3 separate regions of the Homo sapiens genome follow, and regions 1 and 2 are each linked to region 3. The links are contacts of gene promoters, found by promoter capture Hi-C in blood cells and fetal thymus (Javierre and others, 2016). All regions are on one chromosome and are shown on one strand. The core of a region is centred on a gene start or on the middle of the fragment in contact, and the rest is flanking DNA. Distances in the headings are between cores, read along the strand shown.

The links. Contacts are between HindIII fragments. The CHiCAGO score rates a contact against its expected background, and 5 or more counts as called.
Region 1: a contact is called between a fragment that was not itself captured here and the fragment with the promoter of LILRB2 in region 3, in 4 of 17 cell types (total B cells, naive B cells, neutrophils and 1 more). The highest score is 9.8, in total B cells.
Region 2: the fragment with the promoter of RPS9 here is called in contact with the fragment with the promoter of LILRB2 in region 3 in 2 of 17 cell types (neutrophils and monocytes); the score reaches 7.3 in neutrophils.

The regions. Positions count from the first base shown.
Region 1 is chr19:54,395,430-54,398,438 of GRCh38, reverse strand. No RefSeq gene overlaps it. Among named protein-coding and RNA genes, the nearest start is that of TTYH1, 19 kb to the left of the region's middle. The HindIII fragment of the contact is 1,914 bases long and covers 671-2,584 here.
Region 2 is chr19:54,199,556-54,202,255 of GRCh38, reverse strand. It overlaps RPS9 (ribosomal protein S9), which reads right to left and starts at 1,398. Exons shown (of 5, transcript NM_001013.4): 1 at 1,368-1,398; 2 at 975-1,096; 3 at 647-769. The coding sequence starts at 1,071. RefSeq lists a silencer at 1,085-1,578 and an enhancer at 1,341-2,010. The HindIII fragment of the contact is 3,345 bases long and covers 1-2,700 here.
Region 3 is chr19:54,279,722-54,282,431 of GRCh38, reverse strand. It overlaps LILRB2 (leukocyte immunoglobulin like receptor B2), which reads left to right and starts at 1,322. Exons shown (of 14, transcript NM_001080978.4): 1 at 1,322-1,471; 2 at 1,888-1,969; 3 at 2,133-2,168; 4 at 2,357-2,641. The coding sequence starts at 1,936. MIR4752 (microRNA 4752) reads right to left here and starts at 323; the gene lies at 252-323. RefSeq lists an enhancer at 2,209-2,710. The HindIII fragment of the contact is 13,229 bases long and covers 237-2,710 here.

The DNA.
Region 1 (3,009 bases), core at 378-2,877, 120 kb before region 3:
TCACTTTACCAAACATGTATTATGTATTTTTCATAAATAAAAGAGAATTTATAAAACAGCTTGAATCATGAAACATTAACGAAACGGCCTCACTTAGCCCACCATCCAATTAAGAGCTACAATCTCATCCCGACCACCTCATCTACCTGGAATCTCCTTCCATTCTCATCCTCCACTTTCCTCCTCTGCAGAAGTAACTGTGCTTGTCGTTCCCTTATTTGTTTTATTTTATTATTTTATTTTATTCTACTTTAAGTTCTGAGACAGAGTCTCACACTGTTGCCCAGGCTGGAGTGCGGTGGAATGATCTCGGCTCACTGCAAACTCTGCCTCCCAGGTTCAAGTAATTCTCCTGCCTCAGCCTCCCGAAGAGCTGGGATTACAGGCGCGCACCACCATGCCTGGCTAATTCTTGTATTTTCAGTAGAGACGGGGTTTCACCATGTTGTCCAGGCTGGTCTCAAACTCCTGACCTCAGGTGATCTGCCCGCCTCAGCCTCCCAAAGTGCTGGGATTATAGGCGTGAGCCACTGCACCTGGCCCCTTATTTGTTTAAAATAGTGTCTCTAAACCACATATTGGAATGAACTTGGTAAAAATGACAACAGAAACCATGAATTTTTTTTTGAAATGATTCGTGAAATCATTTTCAATGCCATAGTTTGAAGCTTTCCAATATAGGTCTATATCACAGTTTTTGTATTTTTGTACCTGTTGATGAACACATGGGCTTCTTTTATTTTAGTTACTTTTCTATTTCTATTTATTTTACTTTCCCTATTACGTAACAGACATTTTTTACATGTTTCTTGGTGCATATGTGCAAGAATTTTTAAAGAGTATACATATAAGAATGGAATGATTGCGCTATAGGGATTGTTAGTTTCAATTTTTTGAAATAGTGTCAAAGTGTTTCCAAAAGTAGCCTTACCAATTTTTTCCTGGCTTAATTGAGATATGATTGACAAATAAAAGCGTATATATTTGGTCAGGCGCGGTGGCTCATGCCTGTAATCCCAGCATTTTGGGAGGCCGAGGCGGGTGGATCACAAGGTCAGGAGATCGAGACCATCCTGGCTAACACGGTGAAACCCCGTCTCTACTAAAAAAAAAAATACAAAAATTAGCCGGGCGCCTGTAGTCCCAGCTACTCGGGAGGCTGAGGCAGGAGAATGGTGTGAAGCCGGGAGGCGGAGATTGCAGTGAGCCGAGATTGCGCCACTGCACTCCAGCCTGGGCGACAGAGCGAGACTCCGTCTCAAAAAGAGAAGTGTATATATTTAAGGTGTACAACATGATGTTTTGACATATGTACACATTGTGAAATAATTACCATAATCAAGATGTTTAACATATCCATCACCTCACTTTTTTTTCTGAGACAGAGTCTCATTCTGTCACTCAGCCTAGAGTGCAGTGGTGCGATCTCAGCTCACGGCAAACTCCACCTCCCACGTCAAGTGATTCTTGTGCCTCAGCCTCCCGAGTAGCTGGGATTACAGGTGTGTGCCACCACGTCTGGCTAATTTTTGTATTTTTTGTAGAGATGGGGTTTGGCCATGTTGCCCAGGCTGGTCTCAAACTGCTGACCTCAAGTGATCCACTTGCCTCAGCCTCCCAAAGTGCTTGGATTATAGGTGTGAGCCACCGTTCGTGGCCACATAGTTGTCATTTTTGCGTGTGTGGCGAGAGCCCTTACGATCTATTCTGCTAACAATGTTTAAGTACATAATACATTTTCACTAATTTGTCACCATGTTGCACAACAGATCTCTTGAATTTATTTTTTTCTATCTAAAATTGTGTACCCTCTGACCACGATCTTCCCAATCCCTACTCCCCTTCCCAAGCCCCTGGTCACCACCATTCCGCTCTCTGCTTCTGTGAGTTCAACTTTTTTTTTTTTTTTTTTTTTGAGACAGAGTCTCACTCTGTCGCCCAGGCTGGAGTGCAGTGGCGCAATCTCGGCTCACTGCAACCTCCGCCTCCCAGGTTCAAGCCATTCTCCTGCCTCAGCCTCCCGAGTAGCTGGGATTACAGGCATGCACCACCACGCCTGGCTAATTTTGAATTTTTAGTAGAGACGGGGTTTCTCCATATTGGTCAGGCTGGTCTCGAACTCCCAACCTCAGGTGATCTGCCCGCCTTGGTCTCCCAAAGTGCTGACAGGCGTGAGCCACCGTGCCCAGCCTCCCGAGTAGGTTTTGCCATGTTGGCCATGGCTAGTCTCGAAGGCCTGAGTTCAACTTTTTAATATTCCATGTATAAGTGAGGTTGTGCGATATTTGTCTTTCTGTATCTGGCTTATTTCATGTGGCATGATGTCCTGAAGGTTGACAATTACATCCATACTGTAAATGACAGGGTTTCCTTCCTTTCTAAGGCTGGATAGTATTTCCACTGTGTATATATACATTTCCTTTACCCATTGTCCACTGATGGAGACTTAGGTGATTCCATATGTTGGCTATTGTGAATAACTCTGCAATACACATAGGGGTGCAGACATCTCTTCCACACACTGGTTTCAGTTTCTTTGAGCATATACCCAGTAGTGGGATTGCTGCATCATGGAGGGTAAGCTTTTTTTGTTTTGTTTTGAGACAGAGTCTCGCTCTGTCGCTCAGGCTGGAGTGCAGCAATCTCGGCTCACTGCAAGTTCCGCCTCCCGGGTTCAAACTATTCTCCTGCCTCAGCCTCCCGAGTGGCTGGGACTACAGGTGCCTGCCACCACGCCCGGCTAATTTTTTGTATTTTTAGTAGAGATGGGGTTTCGCCATGTTGGCTAGGCTGGTCTCGATCTCCTGACCTCAGGGGATCCGCCTGCCTCAGCCTCCCAAAGTGCTGGGATTACAGGCGTGAGCCACCGCGCCCGGCCACAAAAGCAAATTTATGACAGGGACCTGGTGATGCGTGCTGCATCACACCACATCCTTCCATTCCTTTTCACAAAGAGACTCTAGTGGCTCATGCCTGTAATCCCAGCACTTTGGGAGGCCGAAGCGGGCG
Region 2 (2,700 bases), core at 149-2,648, 80 kb after region 3:
CAAGATTGCGACAACTACACTCCAGCATGGGCAATGGAGCGAGACTCCGTCTCAAAAGTAAAATTAGCCAGGTGTGGTGGCGTGCGCCTGTCTGTAGTCCCAGCTACTTGGGAGGCTAAGATAGGAGAATTGTTTGAACCCAGGAGGCGGGGGTTGCAGTAAGCCGAAATGGCGCCACGGCACTCCAGCCTGGGCAACAGAGCAAGACTCCGTCTCAAAAGACTAAATAAAACGAGAAAACTTAATTAAAAAAACAATAAACCAAGCAAATGTGCAAACCCTGTTATCACCATCACTTAGCCCAGAAATTCCACTTCATAGTCTACTCTCATCCACTAGCAAACAGGCCACATAAACAGAATATAAAGATATAGACGGGTGCCCAGGTGTGCCAGGCCTATCTTTAGCTCTGGTCATTACTAAACTGAAGGTCCAATAACTGGGCAAAAAAGCCACACACCTAAGAAACAGGGCAAAGACTGATCCAGATACACTTTTCCTACTCCACAAGTGCCACTAAAAGTTAGAAGGCTGGTTCCATTTATCCAATGACACAACTCTCATCACTGGAACAGAGGCAACAGAAGGGAGAATGAACCTCACAAGCCCTGCACCCCATCCCTCTGCTGTGGACTCCCATACGCACCTTCGAACAGACGCCGTGGGTCCTTCTCATCAAGCGTCAGCAGTTCCCGGGCGGCCTTGCGGATCTTGGCCAGGGTAAATTTGACCCTCCAGACCTCACGTTTGTTCCGGAGCCCATACTCGCCTGGTGGGGAGAAGGGGGTGGACAAGTGTAGTCCCACGTACTGGCACAACAACTAGACTGGCAGCTTTGGAATCACAAAACCTTCCTAAACCACGAATAGTACCAAATTTAGGGGACGGACTAGATAGAGTACATGGGCACCTTCATCCACGTGCTAACCGCCTCCCGGAAGCCGAACCACTTCCCGGAAGCCTTGGCCACTCACCGATCAGCTTCAGCTCTTGGTCGAGACGAGATTTCTCGAAGGGTCTCCGCGGGGTCACATAAGTTTTGCGACAAACCCAGCTCCGGGCCACTGGCATGTTGGCTCCGCTTCCCCGTCTGCGCCTGCGCGGGAGAGAAGTGTGAGCGTAAGGGATCCAAACGGCGCCTGCGCAGTCCCACAACTACGCCAAAACCTCGCGGAGCCCAGATCCGATCTCGCGAGAATAACCTCCAACGCTCTCATAGTCAGTATCTGCCCCCACAACCGTGCTGCACTCCCGTTCAACCACCCTGCTCTGTTTCCTAACGTCTTTAGCTTACTCATGGAAACTCGGAAGGCCCGGGCCACCATCCAACCCAAACCCTAGAGAAAAAGCACACCACCGCACCTCACCTAAGCAAACCACCCGGTCACTGAGAAAGAGGCGCGGAAGCGCCACGGCTGCGCTCTTATAGTAACGCCGGCGTCTCGTGACGTTTTCACGCACCACGCACGTCAGAGCCAATCAGAAGAGGCGTTGGCTGGCTGAGAAGCAGTGGAGACGTGAGGCTGGGCTAGAGCGGCGTGCTAACCTGGGAGGACTAGGTTTTTTCCGGCCAGGGAGTGGAAACCTGAGAAGTAGGGAGAACCTTCCTTCTCCGCCCCTGGACGGTGGTTTTTCTTTTTCTTTCTGAGACAGGGTCTCGCTCCGTCGCCCAGGCTGGAGTGCAGTGGCGTGATTTCGGCTCACTGAGGCCCCGACCAACCTCTCGGGCTCGAGCGATCCTCCCACCTCCTCCCCAGTAGCTGGGATTACAGGCACACGCCACGACGCCCGGGTAGCATTTTTTTTTTTTAACAGTCGGCGTCTTGCCATGTTGCCCAGGCTGGTCTTGAACTCCCGGCCTCGAGAGAGCCTCCCGCCGTGGCCCCCCCAAAGTGCTGGGATTACAGGCGTGAGCCACCGCGCCCAGCCGAGATTATTTCTGTCACTAACAATAATGTGGCATTCTGGAACGCTATGTGCCACATACTGTTCTAAGAATTTTAAATGTATTTACTCAATCTTCAATACATACTTACAGAGCACTCTCAGAGAAGTTGCCCCCCCACCCATGGTACTATTATTATCAATAGCCACTTAAGGGGTATTAGTACTATTATCAGTAATTTATTTTATTTTTGAGACGGAGTTTTTCGCTCTCGTCACCCAGGCTGGAGTGCAGTGGTGCGATCTCGGCTCACTGCAACCTCCGCTTCCCGGGTTCAATCGATTCTCGTGCCTCAGCCTCCCGAGAAGCTGGGACTACAGGCGCCCACCACCATGCCCGGCTAATTTTTAAATTTTTAGTAGAGACGGGGTTTTGAACTCCTGGTCTCCAACGCCTGACCTCAAGTGATCCACCCGCCTCAGCCTCCCAAAGTGCTAAGATTACAGGTGTGAGCCACCGCGCCTGACCTAGAGTTCTCTTTTTATATATAGTCTGGTTATTGTCTGTCTGTACACCCATCTCTCCACTCCGAATGCGATGGTCTGTCTCCACAGCTCGTGTTCTTCAGTTGTCTTCCCTACGCTGCTGCCTCGGCAGTCACTATCTCCTCAGGAAGCAGTCCCACCCGCCCCTTTCTCTTCCACGGCATCCACACCATCCGGATGCCTGGATTCAAATGCCACGTCACCACTTGCCAGCTGCAGTGCCTTCGACAAGTTTCTCAATCACTCTGTGCCTCAGCGTCCTCCTCTGTA
Region 3 (2,710 bases), core at 73-2,572:
AAACGGGGATCAAAACTATAGCATTTGTGAGAAACAAGACTTGCGTATATGAACGGCAGACTTTTCCTATATGCAGACCCAGCAGAGACAACGTCAGGGCTGGAGTACGAGCAAGTGTTGGTACATGTAGGGGGTACTGAAACGAATTGCCTGTGTATCCCAAGAAACAACTGTACTGAGAGATCATATTTTCTAGGGGTTTATTTTTGGTTTTGTTTTTATTTTAGGTTAAAGCTTTGGATAGAATACCCAGTGTCTCCTTGTCCATCTGAAGAACATGCTGCTATGTGGAAGCACATCCTTGAGATCCACAAGGAGACACTGGGCAAGAAGACAAGGATGCCCCACTGTGCAGAGGTCCCCCTAATAAATGCTCTATGAACACCCTGGTGTTTAGTGCTTCTTTCCTTGGAATTCCAGCAGGTCTGGACAGTTTGGTGCACTCCCTTGAGGGAATTCCCCTGGGCTGCTTGGGGTCCACTCCAGCCTCAGGTGTAGCTAGAGGACGCAGCCTCCCACCTTGGTCTGGAGCCCTGAGCCCCTCACTGTCATTGCAGATCCCGGGGTTCCTCTCCCGGCTCCACTCAGTGGTGGAAACCTCCACCCTAATGAGCCCTTGATGGTCCCGGGACCCTGTGGCATCTCACCTCTGGCCTCTGTTCTTTCTTGTGAGTCCGTCTACACTTGGGGTTTCCACATGTCTTTTTCTGCTCATGACCTTGATACTCTGGGTATTTCAGAAATGCTACACATACGTTTCTCCATTACGGTCAGATGTGACATCTTGAGTGGACTCATCAATCACCTACAGAATGTGGAGTCCAACAGCAAGATCCTCTCACGTCCCAAAGCCTCAGGTCTTACCCTGGTCTGGAAATCAAGCACAAATGAGCCCCTCCCAATGTCCCAGGCACCACTGACCCCACAACCACTGTGACGAGTGGGATTCATGACAACAATCTGCAAAGGAAGAAACTGAGGCTCAGTGATGGGACATTACAAACCAAGGTCACGTAGGCAGCGGATGATAACCAGTCATCAAATAAATATCAACTCCCTCCCCCACTCCCCAAATCAAAGCTCAAACATAAGTCATTGTTCCCAAAATGTTGACCAGGAATTGAGGTGCAGAGGGACGGCTAAGGACGCAATGGGCACCGAGGAGGCAGGAAAGACTCAGAGGTTTCTTCCCGGGGGGGAGGGAGTGGACGCTGGAGCAAAAACATTTAAAAAGGGGAAGTTAAGAGGGGACTATTTGGTTGAAAGAAAACCCACAATCCAGTGTCAAGAAAGAAGTCAACTTTTCTTCCCCTACTTCCCTGCATTTCTCCTCTGTGCTCACTGCCACACACAGCTCAACCTGGACAGCACAGCCAGAGGCGAGATGCTTCTCTGCTGATCTGAGTCTGCCTGCAGCATGGACCTGGGTCTTCCCTGAAGCATCTCCAGGGCTGGAGGGACGACTGCCATGGTAAGGACCCCACAACGCTGTGCTGATGGATGGGCTGAAGGAGGGAGGGTGACCATGTGGGAAGCTGTGAGAAGGAAGGGGAAGCCACTGCTACCCTCATCAGGAAGGGCAGACACAAGAAGCACCAGTTCTATTTGCTGCTACATCCCGGCTCTCGGTGAGACGAGGAGAAACCAGACAGACAGTGGCTGGGGGTCAGGAAAGACCCCATTACAGTCTGAAATGTCTGCAGAGGGCCCAGTGCCTGCCCCCACCTCAGCTCTAAAAGAATGAGAGTCAGGCTCCTGGGAGGGCAGTTCCGCTTCTTGTGTGGCTGCAGATGACAACACCCCATGAGAAGGACCCAGCCTCTGAGTGTCCACACAGGGTGGGAAGGAGGGGAGGCTATTTCTCTCTGTGTGTCTCTGTCCCGCCAGCACCGAGGGCTCATCCATCCGCAGAGCAGGGCAGTGGGAGGAGACGCCATGACCCCCATCGTCACAGTCCTGATCTGTCTCGGTGAGATTTGAAGAGAGAGGGGAGCTTCTAACCTAGGAGGGACCTCACCCCACAGCCAAACTCTGGTCCCTAAGGAGACCCCAGGGGCTCACAAAGATCCCAGGGAGGGGAGGACCTGCTCAGGCTTCAGGGGGCAAATCCCTCACAGGGAACTCTCTTCCAGGGCTGAGTCTGGGCCCCAGGACCCGCGTGCAGACAGGTGAGTCTGTCCCCAGCTCTCCCAGGTCCCTCCTCCTCACTGGGGACAAGGGGCCACCTCCGTGCAGCTGGGGATGGGGATTAGAAGTTCTGGACTGACTGATGGGGGCATCTGGAGGGTCCTGGGCTGAGAGCTGAGATCTGTTGGGTGGGAAATGACTTCGAATCTGACCTTTGATTTCCTTCCAGGGACCATCCCCAAGCCCACCCTGTGGGCTGAGCCAGACTCTGTGATCACCCAGGGGAGTCCCGTCACCCTCAGTTGTCAGGGGAGCCTTGAAGCCCAGGAGTACCGTCTATATAGGGAGAAAAAATCAGCATCTTGGATTACACGGATACGACCAGAGCTTGTGAAGAACGGCCAGTTCCACATCCCATCCATCACCTGGGAACACACAGGGCGATATGGCTGTCAGTATTACAGCCGCGCTCGGTGGTCTGAGCTCAGTGACCCCCTGGTGCTGGTGATGACAGGTGAGAGGACACTCAGGGATCCCAGCCCCAGGCTCTGCCCTCAGGAAGGAGGCTCTCAGGGGTGTCTCC